Regions from separate parts of the Homo sapiens genome. Here regions 1 and 2 are each linked to region 3. The links are contacts of gene promoters, found by promoter capture Hi-C in blood cells and fetal thymus (Javierre and others, 2016). All regions are on one chromosome and are shown on one strand. Each heading gives the region's core, a stretch centred on a gene start or on the middle of the fragment in contact. The rest is flanking DNA. Distances are from core to core; before and after follow the strand shown.

Region 1 (3,399 bases), core at 607-3,106, 350 kb before region 3:
CAGACCCAGCACCTCATAGAAATTGGGAAGGTATTCATTCAAGAAACATACTGGGAGGAGGCCACGCGCGGTGGCTCATGCTTGTAATCCCAGCACTTTGGGAGGCTGAGGCGGGCAGATCACAAGGTCAGGAGATCAAGGCCATCCTGGATAACACGGTGAAACTCCATATCTACTAAAAATTAAAAAAAAAAATTAGCCGGGCGTGGTGGCAGGCGCCTGTAGTCCCAGCTACTCGGGAGGCTGAGGCAGGAGAATGGCGTGAACCCGGGAGGCAGAGCTTGCAGTGAGCCGAGATTGCACCACTCCAGCCTGGGCTACAGAGCGAGACTCCGTCTCAAAAAAAAAAAAAAAAATACAAAACATATTGGGAGGAGTAGAAAATGTTGAATTCTCACTTAAGAATCAAGGTTATAAGTAAAAATTCACACTTTATAATATATTTTATAATATAATAGTTCATACTATATTATAATGAGATGTAACGTAAATGTAAATTAATAATAAAAAGAAGTACATGTTTTTTAGTGTTCAAATGCAGCCCAGAGTAGGAAGAGAGATGAATTTTGCTAGGGTTGAGTTTCACTTGGTGAGGACAATGGAGAGAGAAAGGGTCAAGTGACTTTATGATATATGCAAGGAAGTACAGCAATAGATCATGGCATATAAGCCAAGTATTGGCAAGGTGAGTAAGTGAGAGAGAGAGGACACAGGGAAGAAATGGTAGAGTAAATTGATTAGAAATCCCTGGTGTTAAAGCCTTTTGGAGTAGCACTATTGGAAGTAGTGAACTGGAAAAAAAAAAAAGTGATTGTTAGAGAATGAGAATCTGGGAGTGGTACAGTTAGTGGTGATGTCAATACCTGGGAAATAACCAGTAGAAAGGTTGGTGAGTTTAGGTGGAGAACATTGTAATTGAAAGGGACACCAGGGAACTGCAAGTCCTGGGAGTTGGATAGATCTTCTGTGTGGGTGCGAGGGCTATGAAAATGATGCTGAGTTTAAGAGATAGGTGGTGAGCCAGGTAATTCAATTTTCATGAAATCAAGAGGTATGAGGGGAAGTTCTTAGGCTAACAAGTGGGGACGGAAAAGAGGATAGTCTTAGCACATGTACTTCAAAGGAGGCTACACAGAGACAGAAGGAAACAATGATCTGAATGAATTGGACAAAACACCCATTGTTACCACTGAAAAGTGGGTGGGGGGTGGGGGGATGGGGAGCATGGGAGGAAGGAGTTTTAAAGCGAATGTTTTTCAGTTTAAGAAGCCTGAACCTTTGACAAAAGTTGAGATCTTGAAGGTCTTGGGGCAAATGAAGAAAAGGTGGATCATTTCAGAAAAGTCGTCCAGAAGTTGGAAGCGTCTGAGAGCTGCAGCACAGTGGAGGACTTGCCTCAGGCATGGAGACATTTCTTCCATTGAAATAGGGAGGAGGAAGGCAGAGCACGTGGACACTGAAGCAGGAAGCTGGTGGTTTGGTGGAAGAAGATGAGGAAATATTTGTTTAATTTTCTCTATGAAATATAACACATTCATCAACTGAAGACCATCCTTAAGTGAACTGAGCTTATCTAGGATTGAAAAAGATTAGGCAGAAACCACTTTGTGGAACTCCTATTTAAAACTAAGTTTAAATTTAGAAAAATAAAATTATATTTCTTATACAGCTAAGTGTTGTGAGCTGATAATGGTACCTGAGGCAGGAGAATAGGGTCTGAAGGCAGGGAACCTAAGGCTGTTTCATGCTGACTTCCTATAACTAAATTGAAAGGAAAACCCTAACTTTCCATGCCTAAGTAATAAAAGGACCAGAGGCTTCTCCCTTTGACCTTTTCTGCGTGGCAGATGGAAGACTGGCAACAAATTATCCTGAGTGCCCGTCTGGTCTTTGTTTGCAACTTTGTAACTTCACTCCAGCCTCTGAATGGTAGCTGTCTGCAACCAATCAGACTGATTGCCAGCTACCACTTCAGTTACATGAGGTGAGCATGAAGTGGCCAATGGAAAACTTCTGTGGGCGGGGGGGGGGCGGGATTTGGACCCAAGAAGATTCTGTATCCAGGCCCTTAAGCTGCTGCTCGAGTCCACTTCCACACTGTGGAGTGTACTTTCATTTTCAATAAATCCCTGCTTTCGTTCTTTTGTTGCTTCATTCCTTCGTTTTGCTGGGCGTTTTATCCAATTCTTTGTTCAAAATGCCAAGAACCTGGACAACCTGCAGTCATGACCCTCTATCGGTGACAGTACCCACTGTGTGTAGGAGCTCATCCATGACAAATATGTGCACCACAGCAAGTCATCTTGAGGTGACAGATGGGCGAGAACTTGGGGAGGAGGCAGACTCCAAGGTCAATACGGTTCTAGATAAACCAGTAGACAGTGATGAGACTGAGTGTGAGCGAATTACTGAATGCTTTCAATTTTCTGAGTAGATGCACAGAAGTCTATGTAAAGAAAGAAACAAGAGGCAGCAGAGCCTTGTAAATTGCCAAGATTCAATTTGCTAAATCAGTGGAGAACACTTAGGGAGGGGTGAAAATTATCTTTAGAGCCCATTCTTGAAGTTCTGAATTTCCGAAACAGATATCTACAAAGGCACAGCAATACAGATAGCCCAAGTTACCCTGCAGGGCTGCCAGAAAGCAGTGGCCTGGGCACCTGCTGGGAGACAGATCTTGTTTTTGAAGAGGAATTGGAATTTCATTATAAAGCCAGAGAGAAACGGTTAGTCTCGCAGACAGAATTTTTTTCAGAGAGCTGCTAAGCATTTTGTCTAGAGTAAGCATCTTTCTTTTGCTTTGCCTTTATGAAAATGGCATTTTGTCTTTAGCTGGGACTCTTAAAGAAACCACAGCAAAAAACAATGGAAACAACACAGGCTTAGTTAGTGGACTCAACAAACCAGAGAGAGACCACTAACCCTATGCAAGCCTCAGCTTGACTAATAACTTTCTTGAACTAAGCAGGTGATGGCAAAAGACTAGGCAATAACAATGTAGAGGGGGTAGAGATGGCTAAAATTTTGGGTTGGGAAACAGACTACACTGTCTGTAAACTCTAAATAGAGCCACAAGGCTTACTTCGCTGGAGACTATCCAAATTCACCCATGGTGTCCTGGCATAATTATTAAGTGTCCCCTTTCACTTTCAGAAGTGTACTAGCTTAGACAAAGGTCCAAGAGATTCTATCTATAGAAAAACCAACTCTTCACCCCTTATGCAAGAAGTTTCCTCAGAGCTTATTCATAAAGGAGAAATTCAGCCAGCATCATGCCAATATCTCCAGGAGGGTAAGGTTGGGGGTGGGAATGGCTTAGGCCAACATTTAGAGGAAAGAAATCCCCTATATATAAAATGTTGACAATTCTAGCCAAAGAGATTGCAGATGTAACCCACT
Region 2 (3,735 bases), core at 433-2,932, 320 kb before region 3:
CATGAATAAGATCATGTGGTATTTACCTTTCTGTGCCTGGCATATTTCACTTTACAACTTGCCTTCACCCTTTTGTGTAATCTTTAGCATCTGGTGTTATTTGTAAATTCATCTTTAACATTTTCAGTTTCTTAATTGATGCCTTTGACTTTATTTCAAAATGATATGAAGAAAAATATAAAAACAGGAACATATTCTTTCAGATCCTAGTCTCTCTAGTGACCAAAATAAAATGGAGAACACTGCTGACTCTCCCACAGTGTATTTGCTCTCTTTTGCTTGATTAAGTAATGTCAGTAAACATTAAGGTTTTGTGTGTGTTGAAGGTGTATAAAATTTAATTACGGTTTTTACACGAACAAGTAATTGCCTTCTCTACCTCACTAGTTTAGAATGGACTCTTGAACAGCAACGACATCTTCCTATGGTCATATTACATTTTCAAACTTAAAAGGCCAAAAACATTACATATATGTTTATTTCTTTCTTCCCTTATCTTTTCCTTCTTTTCATTCTTCTTATAATATTTTACGTTGATGTGTATGCTTTTTTACTCTCACCTATAGTGTTGCATATGAGAAATAGTGGCCTTTGGAAAAAGATGAGGTAATCATGGAACTGCAGGATCTGGTCACAGCTCCTGGCCTACAAGGATATAACTATTTCATAGAGAATGAACCAGGAACATTTGCAACTTTACCAGGTAGTAAATAACCTCCTGAAGCAAAGAACCAAGAGCCTTCTTCTTGGGCTCCCGGGAATGGGTTAGATGCAAGCGGCTTCTGGTTCTCACTTGCTTCATTGTCACCAAGAATAAATTCCCAAACATACACTAGAGTCCACCTGAGAGTCTAAAATGGGGCACAAAACGTGAGTATTTTGCTAATGGCTTGGAACTAAAATGATCTTTAATCTCTCTGAGTGTATTTTTTAACTTTGATTCAGGGTTTTGTTTTGTTTTTTTAAATCTCCATGAGGGTTTTTAAATGAAAGGCACCTTTTAACACTTTATTTAAAGTATCCTTATACTTTCATATAAAGTATCACCTTTTATACAAAAATTCTGTTGAAAGAATCTCATCTCTACTTGATAGTAAACTTCTTCCTAGATTTGAAAATTAAAGGGCTTGTAGCACACTACAGTGAAGCAGAAGCTTCCAAAGTGATTTGTCAATGGATGGCAGAAGAAAAATTATTTTATTTATGAATACTTCTTAATAAACTTGAAAGCTCATTGAGAGAAAGATCATATTTGTTCACCTTTGTATTCCCAATTACTAGCTTTGTGCATGACTATACACATGCAATGAATAAATAAAACTTCAGTTTCCACATACACAGCATAAGAAAAAAGATGAAATATTCTACTTTGGAAAAGGCTGAACATCTACTAAGCCTTAAACAAAAGCTGAGAGGTTTAAGTAAACAAATAAGGAAACTGAGCACTTTTAACTAGATAAAAGAAAGACTGTCCAGAGAAAAGGCTTGGTTAAGAAGGGACAAGTGCTGTTAATTGTAAGAGGATTTTGAGTATTACCTTCCTTCACGGAGAGAGCCTCCAGTTTGAGGGGCAAATCTGAGGTTCCGTCTGTGGCAGCTGAACTCTGGATGTCTGGTAAGGCATTCCGGCGGCCTGCCCTTGCTGAAGATGCAAAATTGGCGACCCCAGACTCCACGTCAGTCATTTTTGATGAATCTGTCCTCATAGCAACATCTACAAATAGAATGTGCATATGAAGAAGATGAGCCTATTCAGAAGTAAATGTTCACCACAGTGGTTGAAAGGCATGGCTAGATCAAAAACACAACAGGCTTGAGAGTCTAATCATTGATCACAACCTTCATCAATGTCTACTGTTACGGTCCTGCAGCATCCATTTGCACATTTGCTGAATAGAGCAGGAAGCCCTCAGTGTGAGCCAGATTGCTAAAAATAACCCCTGAGCCGAATGAGCCACTTGGATGCTTAAGGGTGCAGTAATCCCTTGCCTTTTGTTCTGCTTTTCTGTGGATGGATCAGCCAAACTAGGGCTTGGAAGGAAATGAAAACTGACTTTTTTGACCACTCCTGTAGAGACTCTTTCTGCCAGTATTTGCTTGTGGTGATTGTTCAGGCTGAAACCAAATAACTATAATTTGTAGAGACCAAACAAAACACTCTTTTCCTACTTCTTAGAAATAAGAAATTCCACTTTATCTCAAAAGCTTTTTCCCTAGAGAGCACTAAATATTTTGATCTGTTCTGGTCTGAGACCTAATTTTCGATAGACTCATGGTAATGGTTGAAGAGTAGGACCTATTTTAGGTTTTTTTACCTTCAGGTTGACATGGTAATTACTAGTTCTTTCCTAAGCACCCTTTATCTCCCTAGCAATTGTCTCTCTCTAAGAAAGAATTCTCAAGAGATCATTCACTATAAAGGGAGGAAGGTAACAGTTATTGCTTACTCTAAAACTGACCTTTTTATTATGTTTTGGAATGAATCTCTCCTGAGAAGTCAACTCTGAATAGCATCTCGAAAGCAGAAGCATTGTATTGAAAAGCTATGTAATGCTAGCCTCTCAGCTAGGCCTGAGAGTACAGACGTATGGTATACTTTCCATCTTTAGGGAACTTGCACTCTCAAAAGGGAGAGAAAATATATGCCTGCAGAGATAGACACCCTAACACAGAATGCACTAAGTATTGACCGAAGGATGGAGATGCTCATTTGTGATACCTAAAAAGGGCAGAAATATGTAAACCTTGGGCTACACAGAACAAATCCAACTTTTCATGGTAGTTGGAGGGAGTAACTTCAATTCAGGAAATGCTAAACACTAAATGGCATAGTCACAAAACATGGTGCATTTGACATTAGAAACAATATTTTTGGTTCATAGAATGCAAGAAATGCAAATTGAGCTTAGCATGGTCCTTAGGAGTCCAGGAATAGTTTGGAATTGCCCAAAAAAGAGTCATTCTATTAATTCCATAGATATTATTGTCTTTCCAGGAATCATGGGAAATTTGAGAACAGAGCTATGTTTTGAGATACAATTTTGGAATCCATTAGACTTTTAACTGCTTGGTATTTGGCAACTGTGGAGAATGTATAGATATCTTAGAGTACTGTAAAGAGCACTAGACTATTGGTCAAAAAGAATGTGCTCCATTATAGACTTGGAAGGTGATATTGTTCAATCCATTTAATTTCTCTGAGTCACAGTTCCTCCCCTATATAACGGGCATAGCAATTAGCCTATGGATTCACAGGATGCTGGTGAAGCAATAATGAGATAAAGAATAAATGAACTCTTTGTAACTATAAGGTATATGTCTGATTGTTGGCATCATTGTTCATATCTCACTAAATGTTCTTTATTCTACCACCTTCTTGTGTATCCCATTTAATCCTAACAAAAAGTATTTTCCTATTGGGAAGACCTCTTGCATTTTCCAAGAGGAAAACCAGCATTTTTATTCAATACTACATGAACATTTTTATATTACATTAGTTAAACCTCCCAATAATCCCATGAGGTACTGAAGTATGACCCTTGCTTTGTGGATGTGGAAACTGGGGGGTCAGAGAGGTTAAGCGACTCATTTAAAGTTGCACAGCTGCTAAGTCAGCACTCAGGCATGCAAATCAATTTCAGTTCACTCTGAAAGCAACACGAAATGGATTATCACAAAATTATCTCTTCAAATCCCCATAATGCACATAGTTAGCCATCTAAAGCTACTTTAGAT
Region 3 (3,589 bases), core at 159-2,658:
TAATAACACAAGGCAAACTATGGTATTACAGAAGTCAAAACTTCAGGGTCTTAATATGGTGCTCACTCCCTGTTAAGACAAAAGTAAATAAAACTAAGAGTTCCTATAATAGGAGAACAGGAAAGAAAGGAGGACGGGAGATAACATTTACTCAGCACTTAACAGGTGCCAGGCACTATGCAGGTAGTTTTCACTTATTCTTCTCAAGAACTACACATATGAAAATATGCCTCAATAGGTGATCATCTACAATAAGAGTTAACCACTTTCCTTCATAAAAATGATTCCAACAGCCTAGGAGTGTATTCTAATGCACATGCACTGTGGATGTAAATAATCATTCTGCCTAAAATCTTGTATTTGGGACTGATATAGGTCTTGGGTCACCTAGGCAACCCATCCATCTTATGAAAGATTTAACTTAGGCCAGACAAGATAAAGGGCTGGACTAAGGTCATGCTTGTTTAGAAGCAGAGTTGAGATCAAACCAATAATCAACACATCGATATGCCCCTCTGCTGGTAACTGTTCAGCGAAATTTAGTAACTACTAAGTTACCACCTATTAGTACTTTATTAAAACAATCCTAATAATCCCATTATACAAATAGCACAGAATCTCAAAAGAATAATTTGTTAATTTCTATATATTTTTAAAACCAACTGATAAGCAGTAACCTGCGTTTGAACGTATGTCTATTGCCCTGACTGCTCTCCACATAAAGATGCCAGATGCAAAGCAATGTTGGGGGAACTGGGGGTGATCGGTCGCTGAGGTAAAGATCGCCTCCTATAAAGCCCCACGTTGATGATCCTGGCCCTGGGCTCCCTGTCCCCTCCGCGATTTGTAACCCCTGAGCCGGGCGGGAGGACGGAGGATGAGTGTGCAGTAAAGAGGCTCCCGCGCCCTCGGCTCGCCGATTCCCCTCGCGACGCCGGGCCGGTTCCGAACGCGGACCGGACCGTTAAGGGGCTGCCTGGGCCGCTACGCCCCGCGCGGGCCGCCCCTCCCCCACCGCGGCCTGAGGAGAGCGGCGCTGCCGGCCGGGCCCCCGCGGCTCCCCGAGCGAACAATACAGGGGGTCCCCCGCGAGGCTGAACGCCAAGGCCCCGCACCGCGGGCCTCGCAGACAGCGTCGAGCCGCAAGGCCGCGAGAGACCACCCCGCAGGAGAGCGAGTGAGGAGGCGGTTATTCAGGGGGTTCAGAGGCCGCCGTGGCCTGACCGTACCTGGCTCCAGGTGATGAACTCGTTAGTGTGGGTTTCCTCCACAAGCGTCCACAGCTTGCTGAGGAAAGCCGGCACGTTCGAACTCTGCTTCATTGTTAACGCGGCGCAGGGATTCCAAATTCTACACCCGAACGCGGTGGTAGCGGCGGCGGCAGCTACGGCAGCAGCTCCCCGAGAACGCCCACAACGCAGGCGCAGCAGATCTTGGTCCCCGCCCCCCCAACCCCGCCAGGCGCGCGGCAAGGCCGAGAGGCCGGGCGGCCGCACGTGACGGACAAGTCTCCGCGCTCCGCCTGTGCGCGCAGTGGTTCCGCGCCTGTCCCGTCCCTGGCCAATCCCAGGAGCCGACTGCACGACAGAGAAAAGCGATTGGCTGCTGCTGACATGAAGGGGGTGGGAGCAGAAGGGGGTGGGAGCAGAAGGGGGCGCTGCCTCCTCATTTGCCTTTTATACAGAAGCCTTGATGGTAGCAGACTTAGGCTTGGGAGACCGTGTTTGGATGTTTCACGTGGAAACAGCTTATGGTTTCTGGGCTGTGGCTGGGAGGCTACAGAAACCCTTCAGGGCCTTTGAGTCATAAGTTTGGCAGGCAAAGTGTGGTTTGCACCAGTTTAGAGAAAGGATCCATTTGCATAAGGAAAAAACCAGCTCTCAAGCATGATGTGCTAGGCCCCAAATTGAAATTGTCTTAAAAATAATGAAACTTGTTCTTACATTTTCATTGGGAGAAAAAGCCCTCTTTAAAATATGTTTATCAAAAAGAGCAGTTTAAATAACTCACTCTCGATTACTTAAAACTGTAAACCAGGAACTGCAATTGATATATCATGTGCTGTTTTTAATCCAGTCATCAAGTGCCTACTCTGTACCCAGAATAAAAAGAAATAGACTCATTTGTACTATTTTAGTTAATTAAAATAGTTTTTCCTGCGTATACTTTACAGATATAGTCTTTTTTGCCTAAGAGATTGGTATAGTGGAAAAAACAATGGAAAAGGAGTCAGTAGATCTCAGTTTAGATAAAGCCTCTTGGACATTTTTCTGTATATTAAAATACACTGGTTCTGTCATTTAGAACAATTCCTTAGCCACCAGTGCCAGTTTTTTCCATTTCTTGACTGGGAATAAGATCTATCTTTTTACCCACTAAGAGTGTCTTTAATACTATAATGGCTGTGCAAATGCTTTGAAAATATGAAGTCTACAAAATTCGACTTTTTTTTTTTACAAAAGTCAGCATGTGAAGGCAAAAACTTACAAACAAGTCAGAGATAACATACAAAACTTCAACATAGGATTGGTTTACTTCTTGGGTGAATGTAAAATAGTACATTAAATATATATCTATCATTTAATGGAAGATATATGTATATCTCTTCCAATGAGCAAGTATTTAGTGAATGCTGCCTTTGTGCTCAGCACTGGGATGTTGGCTGAAGCAAAATCAGATATATGGAGGCATGCATGTGATAGAGGAAGTAATATTTGATGAGCCCTTATATATGCCAAGGGCTTTACATATATTATTGAATCCTCACAACAACCCAATGAACTAGGTTTTATTATCCCATTTTCCCAGAGAAGATTCTGAGACTCAAAAGTTGATTAATTTCTTCAGTCACAGCAAGTAAATGGGAGAGTATTTACACCCAAGCTTTATTGAGCTCAAAAGTATGTGCCCTTTCCATTGTACAATGATGACACTGTTTCAAAGCTCAAGATGCTTATATTCAAACTCAAGAAACAATATGACCACAGTGATCAGCACTCAATATATACAAAAAGAGCTAAATGTTTTGTATAAAATAAGTACTAGATAAGTTTAAAAAGACAGATTAGTAGGTTAAGGTGGTAAGGAAGGATTTCATGGCAGATAGGGACCTTAAGTTGGGTCTTGAGGTACAAATATATTTGAATAGCTAAAAGGAAGACAACAGAATGAGCAAAAACCAGGAAGCTAATGATCATGTCTGTCTATGGAGGGCAACAGCTCAGGAGGTAAGAATGGCAGTGTCTAAGGAGGAAATGTGGCCTACTTTCATGGCATTATATTATTTTCTTCTAAAAAAAGAAGGTGTGATTAGATAGAAGCAGAAACTTGTCTTTGGACATTCAAAGGCTGGGCATTCATAGGGCTGGGCTTAGTGGGGTGCCATACTTAGTTTAATGCTCTGTTCTCATCCTCTTGAAATTCTCAGTTTTTGAACAAGGGACTGTACATTTTCATTTTGCAATGGATCTTGCAAATTGTGTAGCTGATTCTGTTTCCAATGTATGGCATCTTATAGACCGTAAGTTTGAAACAAATGGTTCTCAAACTTAAGCATGCGTCTGAATCACTTGGAGAGGGAAGCCTTCCA

What was found. The method cuts DNA at HindIII sites, captures the fragments that hold promoters and counts their contacts. A CHiCAGO score of 5 or more calls a contact.
Region 1: a fragment that was not itself captured here is called in contact with the fragment with the promoter of HSF2 in region 3 in 1 of 17 cell types (monocytes); the score reaches 6.4 in monocytes.
Region 2: a contact is called between a fragment that was not itself captured here and the fragment with the promoter of HSF2 in region 3, in 1 of 17 cell types (monocytes). The highest score is 6.9, in monocytes.

Annotation. Positions count from the first base shown.
Region 1 is chr6:122,752,417-122,755,815 of GRCh38, reverse strand. It overlaps a transcript of FABP7 not described here. Among named protein-coding and RNA genes, the nearest start is that of FABP7, 26 kb to the left of the region's middle. RefSeq lists an enhancer at 1-108. The HindIII fragment of the contact is 4,567 bases long and covers 1-3,399 here.
Region 2 is chr6:122,715,766-122,719,500 of GRCh38, reverse strand. PKIB (cAMP-dependent protein kinase inhibitor beta) reads right to left here. Exons shown (of 5, transcript NM_181795.3): 4 at 1,538-1,714. The coding sequence starts at 1,706. Among named protein-coding and RNA genes, the nearest start is that of FABP7, 62 kb to the left of the region's middle. The HindIII fragment of the contact is 1,051 bases long and covers 1,157-2,207 here.
Region 3 is chr6:122,397,471-122,401,059 of GRCh38, reverse strand. HSF2 (heat shock transcription factor 2) reads right to left here and starts at 1,408. Exons shown (of 13, transcript NM_004506.4): 1 at 1,230-1,408. The coding sequence starts at 1,322. RefSeq lists silencers at 963-1,082, 1,353-1,672 and an enhancer at 613-1,112. The HindIII fragment of the contact is 3,471 bases long and covers 1-2,885 here.